Linked DNA regions of Homo sapiens: region 2 is linked to region 1. Evidence: promoter capture Hi-C in human tissues and cell types (Jung and others, 2019). All regions are on one chromosome and are shown on one strand. The core of a region is centred on a gene start or on the middle of the fragment in contact, and the rest is flanking DNA. Distances in the headings are between cores, read along the strand shown.

Region 1 (2,691 bases), core at 65-2,564:
TCCCTCCCTCCAGGTAGCTAAGAAAACAGTTGCAACTTCTTGCCCTCATAGCACTTCTCATTTTCCCAGTTCTTGTATCCACTGGCTTGCTCAGTGTCTGTCTCCCGCAGGTGTCATGTCTGCAGAGGGCCTGGGGAGCAGAGATGTTGCTTATCTTGTTCATGCTGCAGCTTCACCTGCAACAGTGCTTGGGCCATAGCAAGCACTTGGTATGTTCAGTTGTTGTTGGGAAGGGGTAGAACAAGGAGAGGCCAAGATCCAGAAGTAAAAGGCTGATACCTCCCTCAAGGCAGTAGCCAGCAGCTGGGACTTCAATCCTAATGGGGGAGGCAGCTGAACTCCAGAGGCCTGTGCCCTCCCTTCCTTTCCTCCCTGGCCTGGTATCCTGACTTAAACCTCTTTCCCTATCAAACTTTAAAACTGGGGGCAGAAGCGGATCTTAGAGATAATCAAATGCAAAACCTTTGTTTTACAGATAAGGAATCTGACATTCAAGGAGGTATTCAGTAGAGTTAACATGTAGTAAAATCGAGTTTTCCTCTTTTGTTTCCTTAGTCCTGAAAGATGCTGATGCCTGGCATGATGCCTGGCAAAAGACTTACCTTCCTTTCCATGACTTCTGTACCAAATTTGTCAGTTGAAGCTTATCTATTTCTGCTATCTTGAGAGTGAGAATTCTTGATTGAGACTGCAAATAAGTAAGCACCCACCACATGCAATTCCGGACTGAGTACACAGAAAGGATAGCCAGTTCTTGACTCAGAAGATGCATTAGTGTGACTGATGCCTAAGGAATTTGTCCTAAATCTTGTTTTAAAAGTATTTCCATTAGCTTTTTAAAACGTACTATTAAATGCCACAACCCCCTACCCTTACTATGCTTGTTTTTCAAAATAGTGCTTTTTACTAGACAAACCCTAAAAAAGCACTTGGAAACTTAATGATGAGAAATGGCCCTTACAAAAATAGCTGGCTTCCTCTGGGTCCAAATGCTGTTGATTAGGACCAGGGCAAATGCCCATTGTACTCAATCTTCCTGACAACTCATTATTCCATACTGAAGAAATGGCTTCTCGAAGCAAAACCTGCTCTTTCAAGATCATAAAATTCCCCATATCATTTGAGTTAAAATGAAACTAAGCCATTTGAGTTAGATTACCCAGATTTATATCTTTAGCTATTAAAAACTGACAGGCAAGCTAGGCAGTTATGGATACATCTTCTGGTAACTGAGGATTATTTGCCAAGGTCTCTTACCTGCAAGACTGTAAACATGCATGTTGCTCCTATCCAGACAAAAGCTTTAGTAGGATACTAGTGGCCTGTTAGCTGCCAAAGTCACCTCACTGCTCCCGATAAAATCTCTGCACATCCTCTTTGATGTAATCCACAGATGCCTAACCCAGCCTAACAACTAAATTACTCACAAGCCTTTCCTGCCACAAATCTTCTTAAGTATTCCTTGAAGTCTAATTTGTATCATTTTCAAACCTACATTCTAGTATTTTCTCTCAAATTGCCAACACATAGTTAACGGCAGAAAAACATAGTATTTTTGTTGATTAGTTCAAGATGACAGACATTCCACAACAGAAGATAGCATTTTTAATGAAAGAAAAAAATGTGGCAGGACCGGAAATAAGCCAATAACCTACTAACCTTATTAAATCTCTCATGTTATGGTGAGAAAACAACTGAAGACTGTTCAGCTAATAATAGAAACCCATCAAAAACAGTACCTTCTGGTCAATCCCCTCCCAAGCCACTGTTCTGAACCTAACAAATAGTGCTTTCTGTCTCAGATAGGAGCTACTTCTTTATCTGAAAACTTAATACTGCAGGGAGTGCTCAGTGGGGAGAGCATTTGGAAGGGGATATTGCAGAAAGGAGAGGAAGGTATTGCTGACAGCAAGGCAAAAGGTAGAGACCAAATGGCAATTATCAGAGGGTCCTCAGCCCTTCTACCCATATTAATCACATGGCTTTCCTTATCTCTCCATCATAGATGAAAACACAAGTTGGGAATGTGATACATTTGTGTTTTGAGTACAGCATATTTTGTGAAAAGCACTTGATTTCAATAAGATTTTCATTTTTAACTCACTTTTAAGAACTTTCAATACATAACCAGCTATGAAATGACATCTCTGGCAGCTGTAGTAGCAAAAAGCACTGGACTTCTAGGGAAGTAGGGAGTAGGGAAGTTCTAGGCTGGAGTCCCAGCTCTGGCAGTGAGCAAATCTTGGTCACTGCTTGTCTGAAAAATGGGGGGAAATGGGGATAACACCTGCATCCTTGGGCTGCTGTAAGCATTCATTACGCATGTGAATGACCATTGTAAACTGCTGCAGGAGTGCCAAGGACTTCTATTTACAAACATTGGCCTGGAGATTTAGGGTTTTTCTTCCAATACACTTCAAAATTTATAACTTTAATATGCTATCTGAAAAGCATATAGTAGGAAGAATCCAAAGTAACTGAACAGTTTCATTCAAGACTCCAGTAAAAGGACGAATTGTAACATGGCTTTTCTTAGAACAGAGACAGCCTATCATCATTGGAAATCTTCTCAATGGGTCAATTTGTCTCAAAGTTTTTGTTTGTCCATTTCCACATATTATCCACCCCCGCCCAGAGTCAGAAATTCTGTAAATTTGGCTTTACCAGGCAAATGTGGTTATTTATGTGTTT
Region 2 (2,691 bases), core at 109-2,608, 170 kb before region 1:
CCCAGAAATAAAGCCACACACCTACATCCATCTGATTTTTGACAAAGTCGACAATAACAAGCAGTGGGAAAGGCACTCCCCACTCAATAAATGGTGCTAGGATAACTTGCTAGCCACATGCAGAAGATTAAAACAGACCCCTTCCTTTCACCATCTACCAAAATCAACTCAAGTTAGATTAAAGACTTAAATGGAAAACCTAAAACTATAAAAACCCTAGAAGGAAACCTAGGAAACACCATTCTGGACATAGACCCTGGAAAAGATTTAATTATGAAGACTCCAAAAACAATTGCAACAAAAATAAAAATTGACAAGTAGGACCTAATAAAAACTAAAGAGCTTCTGCACAGCAGAAGAAACTATCAACAGAGTAAACAGACAACTTAAAGAATGGGAGAAAATATTTGCAAACTACACTTCTGAAAAAAGTCTAATATCCAGAATCTATAAGGAACTTGAATCAACAAGCAAAAAGCGAAAAAAAAAAAAAACATTAAAAAGTGGGCAAAGGACATGAACAGACACCTATCAAAAGATATATACACCACCAATAAACGTATGAAAATATGCTCAACATTACTCATCATCAGAGAGAAATGCAAATCAAAACCACAATGAGTTAACATCTCACACCATTCAGAATGGCTATTATTAAAAAGTCAAAAAACAATAGATGCTGGTGAGGCTGTGGAGAAAAGGGAACACTTATATACTGTTGGTGTAAATGTAAATTACTTCACCCACTGTGAAAAGCTGTTTGGAGATTTCTCAAAGAACTTAAAACAGAACTACCACTTGACCCAGCAATCCCATTACTGGGTATATACCCAAGGAATATAAATTATTCTACCAAAAAGACACATTCATGTATATGTTCATCATAGCACTATTCACAATAGGAAAGACATGGAATCAACCTAGACTCCCATCAATGGTAGATTGGATAAGGCAAATGTGGTATGTATATTCCACGGAATCTGATGCAACTATAAAAAAAAAGAAATCATGTCATTTGCAGAAACATGGATGCAGCTCAAGACCATTATCCTAAGGGAATTAATGCAGGAATAGAAAACGAAATACTACATGTTCTCACTTATAAGTGGGAGCTAAACATTGAATACACATGGACAGAAAGAAGGGAACAGATACCAGGGCCTACTTGAGGGTGGAAGGTAGAAGGAGGGTGAGTATCGAAAAACTACCTATTGGATACAATATTTGCTACCTGGGTGATAAAATAATTTGTACACTAAGCCCCAGAGACATGAAATTTACCCATGTAACAAGCCTGCAGAAGTAACTCCTGAACCTAAAATAAAACTTGGAAGGAACAAAACAACAAAAATTAGTAGTTTCTATACACAGTGAGCTAGCTAAAAAAGAAATCAAGGAGGCAATCCCATTTACCATAGCTATACTAAAAATAAAATACCTAGGAATAAATTTAACCAAGGAGGTAAAAGACTTCTACAAGGAAAACTATGAAACACTGAGGAAAGAAAGAAGATAAAAACAAATGGAAAGATAGACCATATTCATGAATTGTAAGAATTAATATTTTTAAAACATCCATACTACCCAATGCAGTCTACAGATTCAATCCAATTCCCACTAAAACTCCAATGTCATTTTTCACAGAAATAGAAAAAATAATCCTAAAACCCATATGGAACCATAAAATACCCCAAACAGCCAAAGCAATCTCGAGCAAAAAGAACAAAGCTAGATGCATCACAACTCCCTGGTTTCAAATTATGTTATAAAGCTATTGTAATAAAAACAGCATGGCACTGGCACAAAGACACATAAACCAATGGAACAGGTAGACAACCCAGTAATAAACCCAAGTATTCAGTATTTATAATTAGTTGATATTTGACAAAGATGCCAAAAACACAAAAGGGAAAGAACAGACTCTTTAATAAATGATGTTGGGAAAAATAGATATGGCCCAGAAGATAAAATTGGACACTTATCTCACACCATACACAAAAATCATCTCAAAATGTATAAAAGACTTATATGTAAGATGTGGAAATGTGGAATTGTAAAGTTAATAGAGGAAAACATAAGGGAAAATCTCCACAATACTGGTCTATGCAATGATTTCTTGGATAGGACTCCAAAAATGCAGGCACGAAAAGCAAAAATAAGACAAATGGAGTTGCATCAAATCAAAAGCTTCTGTACAGAAAAGGAAACAATGAACAGAGTGAAGAGACAAAACATGAACTGGAAGAAAATATCTGCAAACCATACAGCTGATAAGGGGCTAATATTCAAAATATATAAGGTACACAAACAACCCAAAAGCAAGAAAACAAATAACCTAATTTTAAAATGGGCAAAGGAACTGAACAGACATGGCTCAAAGGAAGACATATGAAAGGCCAATAGATATACTAAAAATACTCAATATCTCTGATCATCAGAGAAATGCAAATTGAAACCACAATATGATATCATTTCATGCCTGTTACAAGGGCTATTATCAAAAAGAAGAATGATACGTGTTGGCAAGGATGTGGAGAAAAGGGAACCCTTGTACACTATTTGTGGGAATATAAATTAGTACAGCCATTTTAGAAAGTAGTATGGAGGTTCCCAATAAAACTAAAAATAGAATTACCATATGGTCCAGCAATCCTACTTCTGGGTATATATCCAAAGGATTTGAAGTTGGTA

The links. Contacts are between HindIII fragments. The study calls those that stand out against the background at their distance.
Region 2: a fragment that was not itself captured here is called in contact with the fragment with the promoter of MPP4 in region 1 in 1 of the 25 tissues and cell types used here (mesenchymal stem cells).

What each region holds. Positions count from the first base shown.
Region 1 is chr2:201,697,330-201,700,020 of GRCh38, forward strand. It overlaps MPP4 (MAGUK p55 scaffold protein 4), which reads right to left and starts at 1,315. Exons shown (of 22, transcript NM_033066.3): 1 at 1,258-1,315. RefSeq lists enhancers at 1,945-2,446, 2,447-2,691. The HindIII fragment of the contact is 2,902 bases long and covers 973-2,691 here.
Region 2 is chr2:201,527,589-201,530,279 of GRCh38, forward strand. The region is part of intron 13 of CATSPERT (catsper channel auxiliary subunit tau); the gene reads right to left. Among named protein-coding and RNA genes, the nearest start is that of STRADB, 77 kb to the left of the region's middle. The HindIII fragment of the contact is 6,823 bases long and covers 1-2,691 here.